Regions from separate parts of the Homo sapiens genome. Here regions 1, 2, 3, 4, 6 and 7 are each linked to region 5. The links are contacts of gene promoters, found by promoter capture Hi-C in blood cells and fetal thymus (Javierre and others, 2016). All regions are on one chromosome and are shown on one strand. The core of a region is centred on a gene start or on the middle of the fragment in contact, and the rest is flanking DNA. Distances in the headings are between cores, read along the strand shown.

What was found. The method cuts DNA at HindIII sites, captures the fragments that hold promoters and counts their contacts. A CHiCAGO score of 5 or more calls a contact.
Region 1: a contact is called between a fragment that was not itself captured here and the fragment with the promoter of GTF2A1 in region 5, in 1 of 17 cell types (activated CD4 T cells). The highest score is 9.4, in activated CD4 T cells.
Region 2: a contact is called between a fragment that was not itself captured here and the fragment with the promoter of GTF2A1 in region 5, in 1 of 17 cell types (non-activated CD4 T cells). The highest score is 10.0, in non-activated CD4 T cells.
Region 3: a contact is called between a fragment that was not itself captured here and the fragment with the promoter of GTF2A1 in region 5, in 1 of 17 cell types (activated CD4 T cells). The highest score is 6.4, in activated CD4 T cells.
Region 4: a contact is called between a fragment that was not itself captured here and the fragment with the promoter of GTF2A1 in region 5, in 1 of 17 cell types (fetal thymus). The highest score is 6.7, in fetal thymus.
Region 6: a contact is called between a fragment that was not itself captured here and the fragment with the promoter of GTF2A1 in region 5, in 2 of 17 cell types (non-activated CD4 T cells and activated CD4 T cells). The highest score is 7.0, in non-activated CD4 T cells.
Region 7: the fragment with the promoter of TXNDC16 here is called in contact with the fragment with the promoter of GTF2A1 in region 5 in 2 of 17 cell types (total B cells and non-activated CD4 T cells); the score reaches 11.9 in total B cells.

The regions. Positions count from the first base shown.
Region 1 is chr14:49,579,085-49,582,721 of GRCh38, forward strand. It overlaps a transcript of RPS29 not described here. Among named protein-coding and RNA genes, the nearest start is that of RPS29, 5.5 kb to the right of the region's middle. RefSeq lists an enhancer at 2,490-2,609. The HindIII fragment of the contact is 254 bases long and covers 1,151-1,404 here.
Region 2 is chr14:52,733,849-52,737,730 of GRCh38, forward strand. The region is part of intron 1 of STYX (serine/threonine/tyrosine interacting protein); the gene reads left to right. Among named protein-coding and RNA genes, the nearest start is that of STYX, 5.6 kb to the left of the region's middle. RefSeq lists an enhancer at 63-357. The HindIII fragment of the contact is 1,012 bases long and covers 1,378-2,389 here.
Region 3 is chr14:45,074,825-45,078,477 of GRCh38, forward strand. No RefSeq gene overlaps it. Among named protein-coding and RNA genes, the nearest start is that of PRPF39-DT, 7.4 kb to the right of the region's middle. The HindIII fragment of the contact is 6,278 bases long and covers 1-3,653 here.
Region 4 is chr14:44,950,143-44,954,245 of GRCh38, forward strand. The region is part of intron 1 of KLHL28 (kelch like family member 28); the gene reads right to left. Among named protein-coding and RNA genes, the nearest start is that of KLHL28, 9.8 kb to the right of the region's middle. The HindIII fragment of the contact is 2,216 bases long and covers 683-2,898 here.
Region 5 is chr14:81,219,131-81,222,767 of GRCh38, forward strand. GTF2A1 (general transcription factor IIA subunit 1) reads right to left here and starts at 1,829. Exons shown (of 9, transcript NM_015859.4): 1 at 1,359-1,829. The coding sequence starts at 1,388. It overlaps GTF2A1-AS1 (GTF2A1 antisense RNA 1), which reads left to right and starts at 2,088. Exons shown (of 2, transcript NR_135252.1): 1 at 2,088-2,395; 2 at 2,509-3,637. RefSeq lists enhancers at 43-551, 424-493, 534-623 and silencers at 964-1,083, 1,614-1,663, 1,694-1,993. The HindIII fragment of the contact is 3,079 bases long and covers 1-2,822 here.
Region 6 is chr14:39,425,399-39,428,923 of GRCh38, forward strand. The region is part of intron 1 of FBXO33 (F-box protein 33); the gene reads right to left. Among named protein-coding and RNA genes, the nearest start is that of FBXO33, 5.3 kb to the right of the region's middle. The HindIII fragment of the contact is 2,172 bases long and covers 995-3,166 here.
Region 7 is chr14:52,551,255-52,555,153 of GRCh38, forward strand. TXNDC16 (thioredoxin domain containing 16) reads right to left here and starts at 1,251. Exons shown (of 21, transcript NM_020784.3): 1 at 1,062-1,251. It overlaps GPR137C (G protein-coupled receptor 137C), which reads left to right and starts at 1,582. Exons shown (of 7, transcript NM_001099652.2): 1 at 1,582-2,337. The coding sequence starts at 1,894. RefSeq lists silencers at 1,772-1,841, 1,852-2,051. The HindIII fragment of the contact is 4,024 bases long and covers 1-2,828 here.

The DNA of each region.
Region 1 (3,637 bases), core at 28-2,527, about 32 Mb before region 5:
GAAACCCTAGCCTGTGGGTTGTAGGAGGTGGGGCATTTTGGAAAGAGATTAGGTCATGAGAGGTCAACCCTCATGGGAGTAGTTCCCTTATAAAATAAGCCCAAGAAAGCTCATTTGCCCTATCCACCATGTAAGGACACAATGAGAAGGCACCATTTATGAGTCAGGAAACAGCTCTCACCAGACATGAAATCTACCAGCACCTTGATCTCAGACTTCCTAGCCTCCAGAACTGTGAGAAATAAATGTCTGTTATTTAAGCCACTCAGTCTACTGGATTTTGTTACAGTGGCCCAAAGACACTAAGACAGAATCCAAACCTAAGAATATATCCTCTGCCAGAGTGGTGGCTCACACATGTAGTCCTAGCATTTTGGGAGACCAAGGCAAGAGGATCACTTGAGGCCAGGAGTATAAGACCAACCTGGGCAACACTGCAAGACCCTGTCTCTACAATAAATTTTGAAAAACAAAGAATAGATCCTCTATGTTCCAATGGTTGTTTGGGCCTCTCCTATAGCACCTACCATCTTTTGCCATCAACACTTATTGAGCTTTTACTAAGTAATTTAGTTCAATTCCCCAACAAATGAGGACCTATTAATCTACAAGGCATCTTGCTATGTGCTTGGTATGCATGTAAATATGAAAGGAAACACTTACTCCTGCCCTCAAGTAACTAAGTGATCTTTGGGAATAAGAGATGCATAGTCCTCTAACCATACAATAAGTGTGTTGTGAATATTAAGAGCATAGGCACTGATTTCAGACAGACCCAGTTCCAGTCGTTTTGTCTCTTTCTTTGGGAGACCTTGGGGAAATTACTTAATCTCTAAGCCTCAGTTTCCTTGGCTATGTAATGATGATAATACCTGCTGAAAAGTACTCTAAGACTGGAAAAAGGCAATGTGCATAAAGCACTTAGACCACCTATCCACAGCAGCCTTCCCACTCACTACCACCATGTATACACAGGGATAGGACTGTCTAGGGAGTGTTTCCCTTCCATTACCTAAGGCACTGCACGTCTCTTACAGAATTTATACCAGGCCATCACACTGGACCAGAGCCCAGCCCATCCAAGAGACTCTCATGACCAAATCAAACACATATCACACCCTTTTTGACCTAACTCACCACTACATATGTAAGCTTCTCTCATCATCTCCCAAACTTTTTTACATTTGCTTAGCTGACACAGCTTCTCATCCACTCTATCTGCAATACCAGCTCATCCCATTACCAATAAATCTTTTCTACATCCTCAACCTCATCTCCCAATATTCTTCCCACCTCCTTACCCAGACTGAAACCTGGCTCTTTCCTAGACACTTCCCCAACACCAACTTTATCATCACATACACCTGGGGTTCAGGGTTAGGAGCACAGGTGGATTTACTATGAAGCTTATGAAACTTAAACTCCAGTATCCCTAACTTCTACAAGCTCCTTCTAAGGCAAGTATACTAGGAATGTGTTCAATCACATGTTTTCAAAAAATTGGCGGCCAGGAGCGATGGCTCATGCCTGTAATCCTAGCACTTTGGGAGGCTGAGGTGGGTGGATCACCTGAGGTCAGGAGTTCAAAAGCAGCCTGGCCAACATGGTGAAACCCTGCCTCTACTAAAAATACAAAAAATCAGCCAGGCGTGGTGGCAGACCTGTACAGGCACACCTGTAATCCCAGCTACCTGGCAGGCTGAGGCAGGAGAATCGCCTGAACCCGGGAGGCAGAGGTTGCAGTGAGCTGAAATCATGCCACTGCACTCCAGCCTGGGTGACATAGCAAGACTCCGTCTCAAAAGAAAAAAAAAAAAAATGCTGGGTGCGGTGGCTCACGCCTGTAATCCCAGCACTTTGGGAGGCCAAGGTAGGCAGATCACCTGAGGTCTGGAGTTCGAGAACAGCCATTGGCCGGCATGGAGAAACCCCATCTCTACTAAAAATACAAAATGAGCCGGGCATGGTGGCGCATGCCTGTAATCCCAGCTACTCAGGAGGCTGAGGCAGGAGAATTGCTTGAACCTGGGAGGCGGAGGTTGCAGTGAGCCAAGATCAAGCCACTGCAGCACTCCAGCCTGGGCAACATGAGCAAAACTCTATCTCAAAAAAAAAAGAAAAAAAAATTGGCAAAGATAATTTAGCTGCAACCAGTTAAGATGCTCTTTCCATTCCAGCTTCCCTTCTGTCACACTTCCCCTCCTCTCAGATAAAACTGGGGTTACCAATTCTGTCTTAATCAAAGGCACACAATACAGTTGATCACTCACGTCACTGCTTAAAACAGATTCTACTTGGATGTCTAAGACAAGTCTCAAAGTCAACATGTCCAAATTGAACTTTCTATTCTTCCCAAACCTGGAAAGGCCTATCTCAACAGCAATTCTATCCTTCCAGTTGCTCAGGCCAAAATCCTTGGAGTCATTCTTAGACTGGGTCTCATTCTGTTGCCCAGAGTGCAGTGGCACAAGCCTCCCAAGTAGCTAGGCGTGCACAACCACACCCGGCTAATTTTCTCTTTTAAATTTTTGCTATTCTCCCGCCTAGGCCTCCCCAAGTGCTGGGAATACAGGAGTGAGCCACTACGCCCAGCCCCTAAGAGTCATTATCTACTCCTATCTCCTGTATCGGTTCCTTCAACAAACCTTGTCTCCCACAGTAAGGCTGGCTGTAGTGGTGCTCACCTGTAATCCCAACACTTTGAGAGACCAAGGCGGGCTGATCACTTGAACCCAGGAGTTCAAGACCAGCCTGGACAACAAACCCCGTCTCTACTAAAAACACAAAATATTATCCTGGCATGGTGGTGTACACCATGTCCCAGCTACTCAGAAGGCTGAAGTGGAAGGATAGCTTGAGCCCAAGAGGTTGAGGCTGCAGTGCGCCACTGCACTCCAGCTTGGGTGATAGAGCAAGACCCTGCCCCCCAAAAAAAAAAAAAAAAAAAAAACTTAGTGACTATCTCAACCACTCCCATCTATCCTAATGCAAGCAAATATCACTTGCCTAGACTATTGCAATAGCTTTATTTCTACCTCTGCCTCAGTGAAATGAACTTAAGTTCATTGCTGGGCACAGTAGTGCACACCTGTTGTCCCAGGTACTTGGGAGGCTGCAGGAGAATCAGTTGATCCCAAGAGTTCAGACTAACCTGGACAGCATAGTAATACCCCACCTCTACAAAAGTAAGTTTCCAAATGGATTCTCATCTCACAATATCTAACTATAACCTACAGGGCTACTACAGACCCTGGCCAGCTTTCTCACTCTTCAGCCACAACTTTGCTATTTCTCTGATTCCATCCAGGAATTCTCTTCCCCACAGAATCTATGCTGTAACCTCTATTAAGTTCATAAGCCAAATTTAAGTATGGCTTTCTTCTCTGACCTCAACATCTAGCACATATACCTCTTTTAACCTGCTTTTTTTCAAATAATGCACATTATTATGTATTGCTGCTCTATCAGCATATAAATTCAATTGAGAAGTTTTCATTCACTACAGAATTCTGCATCTGGCATACAGAACTCAAGTATTTGTACAATTGTTATCCACAAGTGGTAGAACAGTACTTTCCAAACTTGGATTGCGTAGGGGCTCTTGTTCAAATGTACACCAATTCAGGAGGCACAGGGT
Region 2 (3,882 bases), core at 634-3,133, about 28 Mb before region 5:
TTATTGAAAACAAAAGTACACTCCACAGTGTGGGAGCTGCCCTAGCAGCACTCCCCCCCGACCCCCGCTGCTTTACCGAATCTTCTTGGGTCCAAATACCCCCTAGAACTTTCCCATTGGCCATTCCATGCTCACCTCATGTAAATGAAGAGGTGGCTTGCAATTGGTCTGATTGGTTGCCAGACCCACCCCCACATCAGTCCGCTTGGTTGTGGACAGCGACCATTCAGTGGCTAGAGTGAAGTTACAAAGTTGCAAACGAAGATTCCACCCGCAGTCAGTCTGATTTGTTGAGGACAGCCAATTTCCCGTCTACTGTGCAGAAAAGGTAGGTGGTTTGCAACGGGAGTAGCCTCTGGTCCTTTTGTTACTTAGGCGTGGAAAGTTAGGGTTTTCCCTTCAAGTTAGTTCTGGGAAGTCGGGGTGAAACAGCCTTAGATTCCCTGCCTCCAGACCCTATTCACCTGCCTCACTAGCACCTCCAGTGTTTTCATCCAGAAGCTCAACAAATCTTATTCAACGGTTTTTATAGAACTTCATCTCCATCCCCTCCCATAGAGGTGTGTGTGTGTGTGAGGCTGAGAGTTCAACCCTCTTGTCACATGGTCTTTCTGGTGACTGGCCCCACCCTAAATCACTTCATTAGCATAATCAGGTTTGATCAAAAATAGTGGCTCATAAATAACCAAAGACACTCCTATTAGAAAATTCCAAGAGTTTTAGGAGGACTGTGACAGGAACTGGAGAGAAAGACCATGTATTTCATATTATATCACAGGGACAGAGGTAATGGTTAAAGCTAGTGGATAATGATGCAAGTATTGTCTGCTGAAAGCCAATTCGTTCCGTATTTCTTAATATTGCATGTTTGGTATCTTTTGGTTGCAAGCAACAAAAACGAATTTAAGAAAAAGAAGAAGTAATTAAATCCGGCCGGGCGTGGTGGCTCACGCCTGTAATCCCAGCACTTTGGGAGGCCGAGGCGGACGGATCACGAGGTCAGGAGATCAAGACCATCCTGGCTAACACGGTAAAACCCCGTCTCTACTTAAAAAAAAATTAGCCAGGTATGGTGGCGGGCGCCTGTAGTCCCAGCTACTTGGGAGGCTGAGGCAGGAGAATGGCATGAACCCGGGAGGCGGAGCTTGCAGTGAGCCGAGATCTAGCCACTGCACTCCAGCCTGGGAGACAGAGCGAGACTCCATCTCAAAAAAAAAAAAAGTAATTAAATCCAGAAGGGTAGTGGTGCAGCTAGTTTCAAGGATTTGACCAAACCCAGGTATTATAAAGCATCAGAACTGCCTTTGTCTCTCATGAGTTCTTATCTCTACTTTCTCTCGGAGTCTCTGCTTTCTCTCTGGCTTCTCCAAGATGTGAAGCTTGGCCATCTGGGGTCACACCTTTATGAGCTTGGTTATTGAGGAATAAAACTGAACACTTCCAGCTTCTGTGTTTGAAATCTAGAGGAATTGCCCAATTTAATTCATGTTCCCACACTTTGGATCAGTCACTGTAGCCAGGAAAGGGCAGATACAATGAGGGGCCCCATCTAGGTCATATCCCTAATTCCTTGGCTAGAGGAGTGAAGTTTATTGTTGGTAGCCCTCCCACCAAAACCATAGGAACATTTCCACAGGTAGAGGGTACTTTCTGGGCTGATAAAACTATACATAGGGGCCACATAAATAAACTATTAAATAGGAGCATATAGTTATTCATAATAAACTGACTAATAAGCACTGTTAATTTTCTAATCTCCAGTGAGATAATGTAAAGTGTCAAATGGTCTTAAGTAGTTAGAGTGATCAGCCAGCATTGTTTCTTTGACACAGGGAGCACTACCTGGAAATCCAAATTACAGACCAAATTTAATAAAAACTGAATTCAAGCAGAGAGTTCAGGGAATGCTTTTAATGTTAATGTGATCAAGCTATGATAGGTTGATGATTCTGTCACCTCTACAAGAATATTACTTTCACGTTTCTTGAAATATTGGTATTCTTTGTATAGGACAGTGCTAACAAAAATTTAGATCAGTCAGTTTGTGAAAAGATTGTTACTTTTTTTGTTTAAAACTTTTTCATGAATTTCCATTGTTTTGAAGATGAAATTTAAACCCTTGACATTATTTCCAGGGTCCTGTATGGTCTGACATCTGCATACCTCTCTAACCTCATTATGAGCTACTCTTCTTGCTCCTTTCTCTGTAAGCCCTAGCCATATTTATCTTCTCTCAGTTCCTGGAATGCTTTAATTTCCACCCCCCGCCTTCAGAGCCTTTATGTTTGCTATTTTCCCCTGCCTTGGCTGCCAGCACCTTCCTTACCCTCACCTAATTAACTGCTTACCCTTGGGTTAGATCCCACTTTAGGCAACATTTCTTCAGAGAAGCTTTTCCTGTTTGCCAGTTTCTCTAACTCCTTTCCTCATCCTCTAGACTGGTTCAATTCCCCAGCTACTATGGCACTTGGTACTTTAATACTTACCTTTGTAACATTTAACAATTTTTGGTCATTGTCTATTTTCCATTTAGACTGAACCTTTCATAAGAGAGCTTAGATATTAGGAAGAAGGAGTAGCTGATAGTACCAATTTTTAAGCAAATTGGTTGTAGCTGGGGCTATTGGTTTTATAATTTAAAAGTTAATGTTTTATCTTCTCTTCTGACAGAAAGTGAAATATTTATTTCCATTGCAGTTTAGCAACTTTCCATGTTTCCCTTTCCATTTTTCTTGTGAATCCCGTAGTACAGGATCAAAGATAGGAATTATTTAACATACATGGCTGAGGATTCCTTTTCTAGCTCCTTTATTTAGAATGGTGCTTTTTAACCCTTACTCTAGAGTAAGGAATTTTTTAAAAATACTGATGCGTGGACCCTACCAGCACCTATTGTAGTTTAATTTATCTGAATGAAGCTAGATGATTCTAATGTTCAGTCAGGTTTAAAAATTGCTGGTTTAGAAAATATCTTACTTGAGTACTCTTCTGCCCCTCCAGTCCCTGCCCACCTTCTCTTTTTATTTGAGTGAAACATTTTCTTTTCTCCTTTGATTTAAGCAAAGCTCAAGCTTGGTGTGGGAATGAAAGGAAAAGGACTTTGGAGGGATTTACCTATTTTTTCTAGGAGAGAAAGTGCAATACTAACTTTTCTGTTTTGTGGAATGTCCCAGTGCAAGTCTAGTATTCTGATGTTTTTTTTCTTCCCCAAACTGTTGCCCCCCACCTCCAGCCTATGTACAATTTGTGTTTTATTTTAGTATTGTGTATATAGGATTCAGCACTATCCTCAAATGTATGAACATATCCCCTGTGGATAAGGGGGGACTACTGTATTTGTAAAAGTTCATATTTCATATTTCAATGCATATAAGAATTATTTTATCTAATGGTTACAGTCTATATCCTTCATTGATGTGTTTATTTGAGGGTCTTTGAACATTTTTGTAACTTTTCTCTATCCAAATGCAGTTTTATAGATCATTTTTATGGAAAGGAAGGAGATAATTCGGAAGGATGTTTTAACATGTGGTACTTTCTACCTCATGTTGATCGAAAGATTTTCACTTGTGAATTAATTTGTCTCAGAATCATGGTGTTTCACAATAGAGGGTTATTTTGGTTTATCTGGCTTGCCTTGGTTTGGTTAATGTGGTTGAACTGCTTGGCTACTCATAAAGTTTGGGAAATTGATTTCTACTAATTAATTACAATAGTAACTTAAAATAGATCATTGCTGGTGATATGGAGATGCCTCCATTAATACCACGGTTTCTAAAATGATAGATTTCAGGAGTAGTGTGAGCAGGCTGAGATTAAGAATTAAGTGTGATAGTGGCAAGACTTGGTTATTAGACGTGTGTTCAGACGGATGTGTGGTAG
Region 3 (3,653 bases), core at 271-2,770, about 36 Mb before region 5:
GCCGGGCGTGGTGGCTCAAGCCTGTAATCCCAGCACTTTGGGAGGCTGAGGTGGGCAGATCACGAGGTCAGGAGTTTGAGACCAGCCTGGCCAATATGGTGAAACCCTGTCTCTACTAAAAACACAAAAATAGCCAGGTGTGGTGGCGGGCACCTGTAATCCCAGCTACTCGGGAGGCTGAGGCAGGAGAATTGCTTGAACCTGGGAGGCGAGGTCGTATTGAGCCAGAGATCGTACCATTGCACTCCAACCTGGGCGACAGAGTGAGACTCTGTCTCAAAAAAAAAAAAAGCCAGGCGTGGTGGCTCGCGCCTGTAATCCCAGCACTTTGGGAGGCCAAGGTGGGTGGATCATCTGAGTTCGGGAGTTCAAGACCAGCCTGACCAACATGGTGAAACCCCATCTCTACTAAAAATAGAAAAATTAGCCGGGCATGGTGGCGCATGCCTGTAATCCCGGCTACTCGGAGGCTGAGGCAGGAGAATCGCTTGAAACCGGGAGGCGGCGGTTGTGGTGAGCTGAGACTGCACCATTGTACTCCAGCCTGGGGTACAAGAGCAAAACTCCACCTCCAAAAAAAAAAAAGAAAAATTTATCCTTAGCTTCTGAGAAAAAAAAAAAAAGGGTAAGGGGGTTGCTTCTATTTCAAGCTAAGCTAAAATAAGAGTAAAGAATTGGCTACTTTTTCTATTTATATAAACTTTTATATAATTATATACTTTTAAAATACCTTATATTTTCTTCTAAGTGTATTTTATTACAGTCCTCTAGTTTGGTGTACTTTATGTATAGGGCCATAGAGTAAATATTTTCGGATTTGTAAGCCCGTATTTTATTTATGTATCTATTTTGAGATGGAGTCTTGCTCTTGACACCCAGGCTGGACTGCAATGGCGCAATCTCGGCTCACTTTAACCTCCCCCTCCCAGGTTCAGGCAATTCTCCTGCCTCAGCCTCCTGAGTAGCTGGGATTAAAGGCGCCCGTCACCATGCCCAGCTAATTTTTGTACTTTTAGTAGAGACGGGGTTTCGCCATGTTGTCCAGGCTGGTCTCAAACTCCTGACCTCAGGTGATCTGCCCGCCTCGGCCTCCCAAAGTGCTGGGATTACAGGCGTGAGCCACTGTGCCTGGCCTATTTTTTACACTTAAAAAATGTAAAAAAATATTCTTAGCTCAGGTCATAGAAAAATAGGCCTCTGTTAGACTCATTTGATCTCAGTTGTAAACTCTGAAATCATTACATTTTGCTTCAACCCTACTTGATATGCATCATTGATACAATAGTTACAGATTTTAAGTTTTATTAATTATGACTTCTGCCTTTGTATCACTGCACTTGTGCTAGCTAAATTTGCATCAATAGATTGTTAGATATATTGAAGGTAGATTTTACATTTTAAAGGATAAAGAAGACCATTACTTCATGTATAAGCCTAATTCCTTAGTTTGAATTTTGCACTGAAAAGTACAATATTCTGATCAGTCTAGGGAGAAAAAAATACAGTAAATATAATCAATAATGTGGCAACTTTATTTTACATAATATGTGAGCTACCTTTTATTATAAAGAAAATAGCCATTAATGTAACAAAAGAGTCTCAAGCCTAAAGAGTTTCTGTATTTTAGTAACTGCTTGATAATTGAGCACTCAGAAGTCTAGCACTCTTATCGAGAACCATTATCAACCCAGAGGTCAACAAAGAAACAGACTGATCACTGATTGAAATAACTAAAGAAAAGCTGAAGTCCCGAATAAACAAACGCATTTACTTGGAATAAAGGAATGTCGTTTACTAGCAATGGTAATGATAAAAGCCTAACGTCACCCACCAATGCAACAACAAAAAATGTTAAATGATGTATTTACCCAATGGAATGCATATCATATAGTCATTAAAAACGATGCCAAATACATGTTAAAGGAAAAATGTGACTACAAAATAAGTACAGTGTCTCCATTAATATATGTGCACTTAGAAAACAGAAGTAGTAGTATATATATACCAACATCTTAATGGTGGTAATCTGTGGGCAGTGAAGTTATTTTAATTTTTTTCAATGTACTCTTCTGTAATTTCTATTTTTTCAGAAATGAACAAGACATATTGCTTATAGTAAAATTTAAATTACAATAAGTGAAGAGAATCTGAAGAGAATCTGAAAAGTAATTTGGAGAGGAAAAAATATATAGCAAAGAAGAGAGCAGTGAACATCACAAAAGTGCTAAGGGAGGTACACAGTGATGTGACTCAAAGGGAGATGACCGAGGGAGGCAAGTATTATTCAGATAAAAAGCATAAGACTTTGATTCAGAAAGCATGAATTTGGAAACCCAGTTTTATAATTACCTGCTAAACCTTACATACATCCTGGGATTATTGTGAAGTCCAAAATTTAAAAAGGATTATGTATAAGAAAGCATTTGTAGGGCCGGGCACGGTGGCTCATGCCTGTAATCCCAACGCTTTGGGAGGCCAAGGCAGGCAGATCACCTGAGTTCAGGAGTTCGAAACCAGCCTGGGCAACATGGTGAAACTGCATCTCTACTAAAAATACAAAAATTAGCCAGGCATGGTGGCGGACACCTGTAATCCCAGCTACTTGGGAGACTGAGGCAGGAGAATTGCTTGAACCCAGGAGGTGGAGGTTGCAGTGAGCCAAGACCGCGCCATTGCACTGCAGCCTGGGTGACAAGCGAGACTCCGTCTCAAAAAAAAAAAAAGCATTTGTAAACCTCAAATGCTATATAAAGGTAACATTCCCAACAGAAGGAAGACCCAACTGGCATGAGCAAAAAGGAATTATTTTATTGTGTATATTTATGAGGTACAACTTAATGTTTTTATACATTGTGGATCATAAAGTTAATTAACATATCCATCACCTTACAGACCTAACTTTTTTTTTGTGGTGATCACATTAAAATCCACTCTCATAGCAATTTTCAAATACACATTATTATAAACTATAGTCATCTTGTTATACAGTAGGTTCTGAAAACCTTTATTTTATTTTTCCTCTTTATTTTATTTTTAAATTATTTTTTGAGACAGAGTCTCACTCTGTCACCCAGGCTGGAGTGCAGTGGTGCAATCTCGGCTCACTGCAACCTCTGCCTCTGGGTTCAAGCGATTCTCTTGCCTCAGCCTCCCAAGTAGCTGGGACTACAGGCAAGTGCCACCACACCTGGCTAACTTTTTGTATTTTTAGTAGAGATGGGGTTTCACCACGTTGGCCAGGCTGGTCTCGAACTCCTGACCTCAGGTGATCTGCCCAACTCAGCCTCCCGAATTGCTGAGATTAGAGGCGTGAGCTACCATGCCTGGGCTTCTTTTTTTTATTTTTAAAAATAGTCTTAGAGATGGGATCTTGCTATGTTGCTCAGGTTGGACTTGAACCCTTGGGCTCAAGGGATCCTCCCACCTCAGCCTACCAAAACTGCTGAGATTACAGGCATGATCCACCTTGCCCGGCCATAATTCTTCCTTTCTAAATGAAACTTTGGACCCTTTACCCATCCTTTTTTCCACTTCCCCACCCCAAGCCTGCCAGCTCCTGCAAACCACCATCCTATTTTCTACTTCTTGGAGTTCAACTTTCTTAGATTCCACATGTAAGTGAGATCATGTATTATTTTTCTTTCTGTGCCTGG
Region 4 (4,103 bases), core at 541-3,040, about 36 Mb before region 5:
TGAGGATTAAACGAGTTTATACATAAAAAGGGCTCAGAATAGGGCCTATCACTTAGTAGGCTCTTAATAAATATGAGTTATTACTAGTAAATTCTTCGAGTTGTCCCTTGAGAAGTAGTCAACTTTCTATGTTGCACTACCTCTCACTATTAGATAAGAAACCCACTCTGTCTTCTCTGATACCCTGGGCAACACAAGTATCACAGAATTGTTGATTCTCAAATCAAGGTTATGAAGTATTGACTAGATTCATTTTTAATATAATTAGGAATCACATAGTGATAGATCCTATATTGTTAACCTAATTTTTGTGTACCCAATTCAAAACTGGTACACCATCAACATATGACACGCAAAAATGACACAACATAGGTCTGTAAATACACACATACATGTATGTACACACACAACACATAAATATACACACATGCATATATTTGTATGATATGCAGTATAGTTTTAAGAGACTGGGCTTTGGTACCAGGCTTCCCGGGTTACAATACAATGGTCTGTATTATGTGACCTTGGGAAATTCAGTCAAAAGTTTCAGTTTTCTCATTTGTAAAAAAATAGACAAAATTGTATAAAAAGCAGTTGTAAATATGCCTTTCTATGTGCTGGTACATAAGCACTCAGTAATTGGTAGACGTTATTTATTTTTACTGTTCATCAACCTTTAAAAAGCTTGGTTATTGCCAACTATATCCATGAAATGCCTTTCCATGCATACCAAAAAAGGAAGGAAGTTTGCTTACTGTCCAGGGAACAAATACCTACCAAAGCCAGGCCAAAGCCTCACTAATTCTATCAGTAAAGAGACATATGAGCCATTTTAAAATATAGATGGCTTATTAGATTTAGATAGTTTATTACTTACAGATTGAAAAGAAGATTAGCCAAAGAGTAAACTGCCTGGATCCTTGTCCCGCACATCAAAAATGGTAACACAAAAAAGGGGCTGGCCCCATGAAAACTATGGCTAAGCAGTTTTCTATTCTGTAGCTCTATTCTAAGGGTGTGGGATGGGGTCAAAAGTCTAACACCTAATCACAACCAGGGAAGTGAAGAGAAACTGTCTCATGACACACTTGTAGGGGAAATAGAGAGGTGAGTGGAAAATTGGGAGATGACCTCATAGCAGCTCCTTAGAGGCCTCTCACTCTCTCATATTCCAGGAGAATCACAAGGTGTGTCAAGCCACGGATAAGCTGCAGTCCTGAGGTCCAAGTCTTTGCCTACATGGATACATGCAAGGTGACCAGAGTACCATGACAAAGTTGTTCCCCTATACTTATGCCCCTATAATACTGCTTTATCTCACTTTCCTAGATCTATGTTGTTAAAACCTTTTAAATATTTTCTGACCATTCCAACTAGTAAGTAAGACATTCTATTCATTTGAACCAGCATGGTTCATTTTACTCCATAATAATAGAAATTATCAAAGTGTTTAAAATGGGCCAAAGAAAAGGCACTGGTAAAAGTAACTTCATAAAAGAAAGCCTAGCATATTTTTATAATTGTATTAGATGCAAATGATATACTTTCATTCCTTGTAAGAACTACTGAGAATAAAGTTTAATTTTAAAAATTATAGTTTGAATGCTTAATCAAAACAGTGTCAACTAGCAACTTCAACAAGGCAAGGTAAAAATAGGGAACTTAAAATGAATTACACTAGCAGTTTTCCATAACATAATTTTTTTGTTTTGTTTTTGTTTTTGTTTTTCAGACAGGTTCTCATTCCTGTTGCCCTGGCCAGGGTGTGGTGGCGAGATCTTAGCTTACTCACTGCAGCCTTGACCTCCTGGGCTCAGGTGATTCTCCCACTTCAGCCTCCCAAGTAGCTGGGGCTACAGGCACACATCACCACGCCCGACTAGTTTTTGTATTTTTTTTGTAGAGAAGGAGTTTCACCATGTTGCCTAGGCTAGTCTCGAACTCCTGGACTCAAACGATCACCCACCCTGGACTCCTAAAGTGTTGGGATTACAGGTGTGAGCCACTGAGCATGACCAAATTAAATCTTAAAATTTTTAATTTGGCCCCTTTCCTCTCTCAAAAAATATGACTTTAGAAAAATGCACAGAATTCTAACATTTTCAAATATAGAGTTTTTAAAACAGTGGTTTTCAAATCTGATCCTTGTACCAACAGCATTAGCAACATTTGGGAACCTGCTAGAAATGTAAATTCTTGAGCCCCATCACAGTTGTAAGCAATCAGAAACTACATAGGGCAGTGGGGTTGCAGGAAATGGGCAAACTGTGTTTTAAGTCCTCCAGGTTATTCTTAGGCAAAAGTTCCAGAACCAGTTAAAATATTTATAGCTCAAGTTTAGCAGCTTAAAAATTACTGAAAATTATTTTTAAGAAATATTTAAAATGAAAGTTTTTTAGAGACAGGATCTCACTATGTTGCCCAGGCTGGAGTGCAATGGCCACTCAAAGGCATGATCATGGCACAATGCAACCTCAAACTCCTAGGCTCAAGTGACCTACTTGCCTCAGCCTCATCAGTAGCTGGGACTACAGGTGTCCACCACTGCGTTTGGCTCAAAAACTATAATGCCTTCAAAATTATACATGGCAACTGTGACTATATTTGGTTCTCAGCTATCTACCCATAAATGGCTAAAAAAAGTAATTCAAAGAAGTAATACTTTCTAATCCTCAAAGCCCCACATTTGTCAAACAGTTTTACACTGGCAGTTTCATTTACCTCAGTAACCACTTTGCGTAAAAGGAAGGGTAAGTACCATAAAAAAAAAAAAAACAAACACAGGAAAGAACAGGGAGTAAAAGCATTAATTTTAGAGTCGGACAGATTTGGATTTAAGTCTACATTTTGCTACTTAATAGCTGGGCTATTTGATACTTGGGCAAATTACTTATTCTAAGCTTAAACATTCTCATTTGTAAAATTTGTTGTGGATTAACAGGATTAAATGAGACGTATGTAAGGAAAAATAGATCAATGGAGAACAGAAAATATAAAAGTAGATCATTTAGATATGCAGGTTTAGTATATGATAAAGGTGGAATCTCTGCGAGGGAAAAGAGAAACGTTTAAATAAATGTGTTGAGATAACGGAATAGCCATATGGAAACAGGTAAAACTAGATTTCTGCTACATACCTACACCAACAGGATAAATTACAAATGAATCAGAGGTATATATATGAAAAATGTAATTATATAAATATTAGAATAAAATACGGGTAAAAACTTATGTTGAAATTTAGTCCCCAATGCGGTAGTATTGAGAGGTAGGGCTTTTAAGAGGTAACTGGCAGAGTCCTTATGAACGGATTGATCCACTTATGGATTAATGAATTAACATGTTAGCAAATTAAAGGGTTATCACAGGAGTGGGACCAGTGGCTTTATAAGAAGAGGAAGAGAGAGCTGAGCTAGCACACTCACAGCCCCCTCACCATGTGAGGCCTTGTGCTGCCTTGGGACTCTGCAGAGTTCTTACCAGCAAGAAGGCTTCCACCAGATGCAGCCCCAAGAAAGCTCACACCAGGTGTGGCCCCCTTGACCTTGGACTTCTCAGCCTCCATAACTGTAAGAAATAAATTCCTTTTACTTATAAATTATCCAGTTTCAGATATTGTGTTATAAGTAATGGAAAACAAACTAAGACAACCTGAGATTAGGGAACAGTTTCCTAACTTTGAAACAAAATCCAGAAGACATCAGTGAAAAAATAGGTAAAACTGATTACATTTTAAAAACTTGGAATAAAGAAATCGTAAGTAAAAATATAAATGAGACTGAGAAAAATATTTGTAGCATATATAAAATATATATCAGTAATACATAAAATATTTCTAAAATTTTCTAGCCCTATAGGAAAAATTGGTTAAAGAAATGAACAGATGTTTGTTAAAAACATAAATGATTTTAACCATACAAAAATTGCTCAACTTCACTTAAAATCAAATAAATTAATACATGGAGTTAACAATTCTCTCTTGACAGTATAGTCTGTTGGTGAGGATGTGAGAAACAGGAAATCTCACTCATTGCTGTGGGAATAGAAAATGATACAAAACCTCTGGAGGTAAATCTGTCAAAATACAGCAAAATTACATTTGG
Region 5 (3,637 bases), core at 579-3,078:
GAAAATTGTAAACAAAAAGGGACAGCGATTCGGATATATTCCCCCTAGCAAACAAAGAAGGCAAATCCTAGCTGCTGCTGGGAACAAAACCAAAACTTGGGGCTCTGAAAGCAGCCCGCGACGGGTGCGAAATCACAGGGTGAAAAAAGGACCTAGAAATAAACTGAGCTCTGCACACGCCTGGCTCTTGCCTCGGGAGCACGCACCTCCCAGCCCCGCTCTCAGCAGCTCTCACTATTTAAAGCCGGATCTGGTGTTTAAATGGAGAGGCGGTGACGTAGGCCTGAAAAGCACCTTCCCATCCTGGCAGAGTCTATATTAGAGAGCGGCAATGGCTCTATATAAACAGGGCAGCCAAAGGGAGGAGGACCACAAGGCTCAGGGACTGAAAAGCAGGGTAAGCGGCCGCAGCCATGATGGTTAGACCCGAGTCGCCAACGGTACGGTGTCGGGCGGCCGCGGGCTGGTCTGCGGCATTTGGGACCGGGCAAAAAACGTGTTTTATTGTCATCATAAAAATAAGAGTTGGGTGGACTAGTGATCACACTGCGTTGGTGACTGAAAAGGTTATTTATGTGACTGCTTTTTGCAAACCTACGTGATCGCAAGTAACAAAAAGGGACCAACGGGAAGAAGTAGGTAAATTTCAAGGCGAAAGCGGGGACACTTGGACCACTGCAGGCTTTTTTTGTTTGTTTTGGTGCTTCTGCTAGGCGAAGATACGATGGGGGTCTTCCCCTTCGCCATTTTACCCATTCGGAAGGAACTGAGATAAGTGCTTTTCAACCAACCTTCGTCCTTTTTTTAAACATAAAATGGCCTCAGAGAAGGTTCCCAAAGCACAGCCGCCAAAAACAACCTAAGAAACCCCCAAAGTAACCATTAATCTTCCACTGCATTAAAGTGGATCACGATGGGTCTCGGGGGTTCGCCCGATTCCCCACACACAGTTTTTGTTCTGTAGCCACTCGGGGAGCCCTCGTCAAGCCAGCGCGGACGGGCCCCTCGGGGGGAAGCGGCGGCTCCCCTCCCGCCCTCCCTCCCGGCGGCCGGGTTCTGGGGCCGGGGCTGCGCGCCCGACCGGGCCCAACCGCCTCCGCGGCCCGGCCCGGCCCGCGGCGGCCCCAGGCCCCACCGGCGCCCCCGCCCTCCCCGCGCCGCGAGCCCTCGGCGCCCCCCCGCGCCCGCCGCCCGGCGCTCCGGCCCGATCCGCCCGAGGCGGGAAGCGGCGGCGGCGGCGGCCGCGCGGGCGGCTGAAGAGTCGAGGCCGGGAGTCGCCGCCGTCCCCGCCCCCGCCCGGTCCGGCCGTTGCTGCAGCCTGAACGAAGCCCCCGCCGGCCACCGAACCACGTCCTTACCACGGTGTTTGTATTTGCCGAGTTCGCCATTTCCACACACAACACAAACAAGAGGGGGCAACCCCAAGAAAACAAGATAAAAACAAAACCAAAAAAAAAAAAACTATAACACCCGGAGGGTGACCCAAATCACCGCAAGATTGGGGAAAAAATTTTAAACAAAATCAATCCTGAAGGAGTAGGGGAGAGCGGAGAGAGGAGGAGGAGGGGGGCACTCCTCCCGCAGCTGAAAACCTCGAGAATCGCCTTAAAAAAAAAAAAAAAGCCACGACCCTTCAGGGGTCCGGGGGGCGTTGCCCGCTCCCCACCCCGCGCCAAGGAGGGAAACCACCACCGGTCACCGCTCCCTGCGCCGCCGCTGCCGCCACCGGCTGCAGCTCCAGCCGTCCGGTCCGCCCGCTTCTCTCCTTTATATAGCGAGCCAACAAGCTGCGCGAGCCACCACCGCCGCCGCCGCCGCCGCCGAGAGACAGGGTGAAGGGGGAGGGAGGGGCGGAAAGGGCGGGGGCAGAGGTGGGCGGGGCTGAGCGCGAGACACCGCGAGAGCCGCGTGCGCAGGCGCGCCGGGGCGGAGGCCGCCGGCGAGCCGCGTTGTCACGCGCCGTGGCGGGTACTGGACTGGCGGAGCCCGGGGAGTGAAGTAGTGAAATCGGACCTACGCCTCTCCAACGCTCGCGTGATCACGTGGTTGGCACCCAGGCGGAAGTCTGCGGCAGTTCTTTGCGGTGAAGAACTTGCAAAGCGTTGCTGGAAAAGACGGGAGTTCTACTGACACTCCAGTCCAAAGCTAGGTGGGACCGCCTCCTGTCGCACGTTTCCGCCTGGTCCCGCGCTTTAGGAGCTAGGAAATGTGACAGAGGCGGTGCCTACTGCCTCGCTAGGAATGGCCGCGGAGGAGGACTGGTCACGTGGCGTGGCTTCCGGCCTCTGGCGCGTTCCTATTCGGGAAGGTTTTAAATGCGGAGTCATCTCTTGATTTGTCAGCGAGGCTTTGACTGTGAGCTTCGCGGCGTTCGCGCCTCACCGCCTCACCGAGGGTGGGTCTTTCGCGCGCAGAATTGTGTAGGATTTTCCAAAGGGAGTAAAAGCCGATCGGGGCCTACTTTTAACATTCCACAATTAGTAACGTCTGATTCGTTTGTTTCCACAGTGGGTACGCTGCGAAGACTAGGCTTATGTTACCCAGAGGTTAGTCCTCTACTAGGCCACGTACTTTAAATAATTTATCACGCTAGTGGAAATGCGGGGTGGAAGAAAACCCCACCAGCCTTTGGATTGTAACAGCACAGTAACTTTCCCTGGTTTTTAAAAATATTGCCAAAATACTGCGACTCCATGTGGCCAACGTATAGTGACTGATCACTTTGAAATGCATGCCCTTGACCCACCAACTCGCATGGCCTCTCGCTATAAGAGAGCAAGCCGGCTGTGTTCCATGTTCAATTCAATAAGTGCAATTCAATAAGCTTTTGACTTGTTCTGCCCAAGCAAATCCTGCCTTTATATCGACCTTGCAAGCAGAACAGAGAATGCTGTTTGGAAGGCAGAATTCATAGTACCTAGTTTTCTTGTCCCTGGGAATTTTGAGGGACTTGAAATGTCGCGTGGATGAGTGAGGGAGTTTGTCTTCCAGAGACAAAGCAAAACGAAACGTCAAAGTTCTGTGCTGGTGAAACCAGATTTGAAGAATATCAAAGGCGTCTTACCAAAGAGGAAAAAAAATGCATCTTGCCAAGACTTGAAGAAAGGGATTAGAGAAACCAGAGGCCTTGAATACTCAGAAAATGGGAGATTGTGAATGGGTGTAGAGGATATCTATGAACCTTGACATTTCTTTTCACGCCAAGTCCATTCCCCTGTTAACAGTTGCTTCCCAGTTTCCTGCACAGCTGCATGGTCTGGGACACTTAAAGAAAAAAATCACAGGAAATCAGTGTTCTTGGTATATTATATAAAGTTATGATTCTATCAACATTTGTAATTCATTTAATATTCAGGTGACAGCCCGAAAATTTACACTAAACAATACCATTCCTGTTAAGTTTTACTACATATTGAGAGGACTTCTTGTTACCTCCCTATTACATACTCCCAAACGCTTTGCACATGGAATCCCTCACCTTCCACCTAGTTTTCCCCCCTACTATTGATATTCTTGACTAAAAGGTTGAGTAGTTTCGCCATCAATTAAAGTTAAAACCACTGCAGACAGGACAGGGAAGAAAAGCTACGAGGTTTGCTCTTCACAGAATTAATCTGTGAAATAATGGATTGTAGTT
Region 6 (3,525 bases), core at 831-3,330, about 42 Mb before region 5:
AGAAGAATTAGTTATGGAAACATAAAAGAACATGGTTCTTTAAAAAGATGCTCTTAAAAACATTAAAATCTTTTCCAATGCCATAAAAGAGATAATGACATATAACTTTTTTCCTTTTTTAAATTAATAAAAGCTAAAATAATCCACCATCATTGCATGAAATTCTCTTGGGCTGGTTCTATTCTTCTTAGTCCACTTTCAGTATCATGTTTTAACATCCACATTATACTTTTTTAATAACATTATTTCCTTTCCTCAAAAATGCTAATGAACGGTCATAGCCAAATCAAACGAACACAAATAGTTTAGAGATGTGTTGTCCAGTAGTTTTCTTCTATGGATGGAAGTGTACTATTCTTTGTTGTACAATATAGCAGTCACTAGCCATATGTGACTATTGAGCGCTCGAAATGTGGCTAGTGGAACTAATGGGGTCTTTAATTTTATCTATTTAAAATTTAAATAGCTATCTGTAGCTACTGGCTGCCATATTTGACAGTACAACATTAGAACCCAGAAATAAATAACCGGCCTATAACAGTACTCCGTATTAGCTTTGGGACCCATTAACCAGAAGTTATTTCCCAGAACTTACAATTCCATCTAAGAATTACCATCCCCTAATCTAAGAATAACTACCATCCCCAAATCCCGAAGGTTACACACAAAAGGTGTATTTAAATAAAATGAACACTTGCGGTTGTTATTTAACATGCTATTTTTAAAAATTATTTATTTATTTATTTTTTATTTTATTTTTTCATATTTATTTTTTTAACATGCTATTAAAAGATAATTTTAACAATAATAAGGACAAGAAAATCGAGTGAGAAAGAAATGATGAAAAAATATTGTTTTTTCCTTTTGTCTTACTACCCACATCTAACTGGTGAGTACTCTGGGCTATACTTCCAAAATCCATCCACTTTTTTTCATCTCTCCTGCCTCCATCATAGTTCAAGCTACCATCATCTCTTGCTTAGAGTACAGTAAAAGCTTCCCAACTTGTCCCCCTACTTTCTCTCTTGGTCCCTAAGTCGCTCATAAAATGGCCAGGGTGATTGTCTTAAAATGCAAATGATATCACATTATTCTTGTCCTTAAAATTTTTTTCAGTGACTTCTTCTATCCTTGGAATATATTCCAAACTTCATTAAATAAGCCTACCTAACCCCAATTCTTCCTTCTTCTACTTCTCAGAACTCATCATGGCATCATTTTCATCCTCACTTGCCACAGCCCTGTCACACTTTCTTTTCCACTGCTCGAACAGACCAAAAATTTGTCTGGCTCAAGACCTTAGCGCTTACTGTTTCTTGTGTGTGGAATGCTATTTGCTCAGATCTTCAGATGGGCAACGCTTGTTATTCATGCTGCAGCTCAAATATCCTTCTCAAAAGAGGTTTCCCTGACACTTTACCTAATGTTGCCACCTAGTGACTATTACATCCTTCTGTTTTATTTTCAGATTTTATTTTCACAACCTGAAATAATCCTTCTTTCCTTTGTCTACTTGTTTCTGTCTTCCTTCCTCCTCTAGAATGACTCCGTGAGAACGGGAAGCATGTCTTCCCCGCCTGGCACATAGTACGCTCTCAATAATTGGAGGAAAAAACCCTAGATTTTCTATAACTATCATTTTAGCTCCTAAATAAATTGGTCAAGTTTGGTGAACTCTCCCAAGGCTGCCTCAGAACTAACAAATTAAAATGGAGATATTTAATCACTCCACTCAAAAGCTGCTTAACACCCTCATTTAACACAGTCAAAAAATTTTAACTTTTTTTTCCTTGAGTTTTACACCCTATTCCATCTATCAGTTGCCAATACAGCTGTGGAATAAAAAGTCCTAAAACCTCTCATAACAGCCTTCCAGGAGGTTAGTTTCTTTAGCTTTCCTTCTCAGTAACTTTGAGGCTATCCCTAAGGAGCCTCTTTTTCAGTTTTTAGGTAAGGAGCCTGCTGGGAATGCAGTGTCACAGGAAACTAATTCTTGAACAGGGCAGATTGGTCACAGGCCCAGTATATTTTAATATATTTATTCTGTAAATGGGCTTTTTAAAGTAAATAATAACAAAGTAAACTCTCAGAGATGAAACATTGTTAGACATATTTATTATACTACCACAGGAGAAATATTTCAAGAAAAATAAGGCTAAAAACTGTTGGAGATAATACCTTCAAGGCATTTTCTACCATCTTAGGTAGTAATCTGAAATGTCCAGGGAATTTTTAACCCATTTTAAAATGCATTTTTAGGCAGGGTGCAGGGGATCACACCTGTAATCCCAGCACCTTAGGAGGCAGAAATGGGAGAATCATATGAGGCCAGGTATTAGAGACCAGCCTGGGCAACACAGTGAGATCCTGTCTTTACACAAAATTAAAAAAATATATATATCAGCCAGGCATGGTGGTGCATGCCTGTAGTCCTAGCTACTAGGGAGGCTGGGGTGGGAGGATCATTTGAGCCCAGGAATTTGAGGCTGCAGTGAGCTATGATCATGATTGCTCCATCCTGAGTCACAGAGCAAGACTCTGTCTCAAAATATTTTTAAATGTCTTTATTATTGTTTCTTGGTAGGAAACAATACAAAGGTAAGATTCTCCTTCACTGTGCATGCCAAATCAACAAGACCCAAATCTAAGTATTATTAATAGATCCTTTTTAACTTACAGGATATATAAGCAGACACAGTCATGAAATGGTCAATCTACATACAAGCAGTTAGAGCTGTACCCAGAATCTTAAAAAGAAAATCAATCTTGTACAAAATTTCTCTGGTCTGTTACAATATGCATTCTTTTTTTTTAAATTTTTTTTTGAGACGGAGTCTGGCTCTGTCACCCAGGATGGAGTGCAGTAGCACGATCTCTATTCACTGCAACCTCTGCCTCCTGACTTCAAGCGATTCTACTGCCTCAGCCTCCTGAGTAGCTGGGATTACAGGCATGCACTGCCACACCCGGCTATGTATTTTAAAAGAGATGGGGTTTTGCCATATTGACCAGGCTGGTCTCGAACTCCTGACCTCAAGTGATCCACCCGTCTCGGCCTCCCAGAAAGTGCTGTCATTACAGGTGTGAGCCACCACCCCTGGCCAACGATATGAATTCTCAACAACAACAAAAAAGTACTGCCCCTAACAGCATTCCACCCAAGAAAAGCTTATGTAAAACATTTATACAGCCCATAGAAGCATAAACCAGATGAAGACAATGTGCCTATGGCTACTCTTCAGGTATTTTTAGTGACTGAGTCTATTACCTATTATCATAAATCTTACCATGAGCTCTCGTTTTTCCTAAGGAGTCTGAAATACAGCATTTTAATAGGCAGTACCCAACCTGACAACTGGATTAAATGCTAAAAATGCATTTATATCTATTTGTTGTTTGCACTTCTAGGTACAATTTCTTATAGAACGACTGCAGAGAAATTCAGCCTATGTGACCTAAAATACAGTTGAATGAGTACTTACTGCCCCTCTGTTCTTACTATTAATGAAGAAGACAGGTATCCTA
Region 7 (3,899 bases), core at 1-2,500, about 29 Mb before region 5:
GGGCAAAGCATATGACAAAGGCCAGCCTGGACAATATAGTGAAACCTCGTCTCTACCAAAAAAAAAAAAAAAATCAGCCGGGCATGGTGGCTCCAGTGCCTGTAGTCCCAGCTACTTGGGAGGCTGAGGTGGGAGGACTGCTTGTGCCCAGGAGGTGGAGGTTTGTAGTGAACTGTCACTACAGCCTGGGCGACAGAGCGAGACCCTGCATGAAAAAAAGGAAAAAAAAAAAAAAAAGCATAGGACAAAGGATGGTGAGGTAAGAAAAGCTGGGTCTTTGTTGCTCCAATAAACGTAGCAATGTCTTTCACAAGGATACTGAATTCGTAATGTGCTGTGTATTCTAAAGAAAACAAATTATTTCCTTTTAATTTTGCACTACTTGCTAATCTTATTTCCAAATAGGAAAAAAAAAAGTCAACAACTATGTGCCGGCCCAATATACGTTAGTCGATCTGATTATTCCTCGGTTCTTCACAGCAGTAACACAGCATGTATTTTCTCTCTCAGGCCCAGGAATAGCGCCACCATCTACCATACACAGGTCCAAGGCTTCGATACATGTGGAATTTAAACAGTACAGAATATTCTACTTCCTCTCCAGGCAATCATCATACTTACAAGTCTGTTTCTGCCTTTTTCCCAAAACTTAAGCCCAGAGCATCTTCCCAAATTCTACGTTTGAAAGAACCAGCTTCCCCCTGCTCACAGATCGCTTCAACATCCATCTGATACTACTACTACTCTTCCTTAAGAGACATTTCCCTTGGCCTTGGGAGGAAAGGGTCTTTCACTTAAGAGCTCCGATTCTCCCCGTCGCCCCTTTCCATCCCCTCGACCCACAAAGGGCTCCGGTGTTTCCCGCCGTTCATGCAGCGAAAAGAGAAAGCAAAATGCCCTCAGGAGGCTCCAGGTGAGGCCCTTCGGTGCCCCAGAGACGGGTGTCTTAAGTCAGACTCCGGAGCTGTGCAGTGCAGCCCTGGCTACAGAAAGCTGCTTCGTCTGAATCCCCGGGTCTGCAGGCAGAGCCCACAGCCTGAAGGGCCAGCGCTGTCACCTACCTGCCCGGGACCTGCGGGCGGGGACCTGGGCCGTTCCCGAGGCCGCGCGGCCAACAGTTCCCGCCGCCACGCGACGGAGGAGGAGGCAGAAGACGGGGCCGTGCCAGACTAGCCGGGTAGCCTGGAACCACTTCGCCAACCTGCAAAGGCGTAGCACTTCTCCCTCCCAGCCTGCAGCCGCCACCGACTCGGCGGAGTCGGCCTCCTGGGAAAAAACAACCTGCGAAGCTCCTCCTTCTCCTCGTGCTCCCTACGCGAGGCACTCTCTAACCAATGGGAAACGTGGTGGGCGGAGCGAGAGTGACAGACGATTACAGAGTCCTCCCGCCGGCGCGAACGGGCGGTGCAGTAGCAGGGCCAATCAGCAGCGTGGGTGGGAAGTACAGGGGCGGGAGAAAGTAGGGAAATTACGCGCCCAATCAGATCTCGGGGCCCTCGAGCGACGGGTCCTGCGGCCCGTGGCCTTCCGAGCGCGGCGCTCAGGGGGCGTGCCTGCCTGGGCCAATCGGCGCGAGCCCACAGTGCGGAGCGAGCGCCTCAAATGCTCGGGTTTCTCAGCTGATTGTCTCCAGCCGAGAGTTGTTTTTTGCAGCTACGGAGCCGAGCCGCAGCAGGAGGAGCCGAGACCCCCGGGGGGTGGGGGGAAAGAGGAGGCGGGGTCCGGGGGAGCCGCGGCTGCTTTGCGCTGGACTCCGGGTCCCGTCACGGCGCTTCCTGGGGTTAGAGGCTGGGGTGGGTGGGGGGTAAGGGGGCAGTCCTTCTCCCCTTCGACGGCGGCTCCGAGTCCAGCCCCTTCCTTCCCGCGCTCGCTCGCCCGGCCCCCAGCCCCCTCATGAGGGTGTCCGTGCCGGGTCCGGCGGCCGCTGCCGCCCCCGCAGCCGGCCGCGAGCCCTCCACGCCCGGCGGGGGCAGCGGAGGCGGAGGCGCCGTCGCTGCAGCCTCAGGCGCCGCGGTGCCGGGCTCCGTGCAGTTGGCGCTGAGCGTCCTGCACGCCCTGCTCTACGCCGCGCTGTTCGCCTTTGCCTACCTGCAGCTGTGGCGGCTGCTCCTGTACCGCGAGCGGCGGCTGAGTTACCAGAGCCTCTGCCTCTTCCTCTGTCTCCTGTGGGCAGCGCTCAGGACCACCCTCTTCTCCGCCGCCTTCTCGCTCAGCGGCTCCCTGCCCTTGCTCCGGCCGCCCGCTCACCTGCACTTCTTCCCCCACTGGCTGCTCTACTGCTTCCCCTCCTGTCTCCAGTTCTCCACGCTCTGTCTCCTCAACCTCTACCTGGCGGAGGTAAGGCGGGAGGGCCGGCATGCGGGGCCCGGGCGGGTGCGCGGGGCCGCCGGGATCAACTCCCGCTGAGGACCAGCGGGGGCGGGGGGTGGGCAGCGAGAGGCGGACTGGAAACCAGCCTGGGGAAACTGAGGCACACCTGGAGTGTGAGCCAGTGTTTTCGCCTTAAACTTAAGTGGCTGATTGGCTTGATTACTGAGGGGTTCGGGCTAGGGGGTGAGTGAGTGAGTGTGTGTGTCTGACAACTTAAAACAGCAACGGAACGAACCCTTTGTTCGGTGTTCTGGCCCTCCGAGGTAAGGCGTTGGTGGCACCAACAAAGTGGCATCGCAAGAAGTAGCAGCCCCGGTGGCTCTGCCGAAGCCGGACTGTGTTGAGGGAGGTTGGATGCTGAGGTAGCAGCAGCTCTGCTGAAGCTGGACTGCTGCCAGCCATTACGTCACCAGGCAGAGCTGTTCCTCTGCTATTGTTGCTGCGTTTCTTTTATTAGAAGCTTATATTCCCTCCTGCATCTCCTTTCCTGTGGCTCGATAAGCCTCACATAAATTTCGTTCGATAGTTCCCCAGCAGGGTTGATGATCAATAACCAATGCTGAGGATCAGGATAAGGACCTCCATAAAGCCCTTAATGTTTGCCCCAGTTGCTTCGTGCTTTAGCGGTTTATCCTACCTCCTATTAGCATAGTCTTTTTTGGAGCTAATTAAGAGAAAAAAATACTAGCTTAACCTGTGCCTATTGCAGAAACAAAACCACCAAACTGTTTTTGCAATAACTTGCTTAATATCTGGAACCTAATCACACCCCCTTTCTCTTTTATGGGGAATTGCTGGTTGGATTGCATTGTTCTGCAGCGCTTAGGTATTTGACCCATTTCAAACAGGTTTGGGAGTGTAAGGTTGTCAATCATGTGTGTCAGCTTGTGGTATTTAAGCCATAATATTTTAAGACTTTCCCCCAAAAAAGTCCTCCTTCCCACCAAAAGAAAAGCTTGAGGAGGGGAGGAAGCAAGGTGACATCATATGCTTAATACAGACTAATATAGAATAATATTGGCCTATGCAGCTAATCCTCTCAAAGGCTTTTTTGGAGGTGATGGAATTAATGTAGTTCCAAGCAAAAGTAAAAAAAAAAAAAATGACGTATATTAAGTGTTTATATTTCCTGCATAAACCAACTCTTTTCTCCTTTAATAGGAAGTAGAATGCATAATTTTATAATCAGTCATAATGTCAGCTATTTAGCACACTAAAAACAATAGTTGAAAACAACAAAACTAATTTAACTTTTATTATTTTCCTTCTCCATCCTTTGAAAGTCCAAACAATACAATGACAAAAACGCAAACCAGTAAGCGGAAATAAGAAGCATAGGTTATCACAAATCAAATGATGCCATAGTCGTGTCACTTATTTGAGGGTGTTCTAATCTAGTTGTCGTTTAAGCTGTTATAACACTTCTACCCTTTATACTTAAACTGATACATTGTAATCTTCCTGCCACCATTTCAGATAGTGCGTTAGTGACTTCTCAACGCTGAAGCTTTTACTCCAGGTTCAGATGT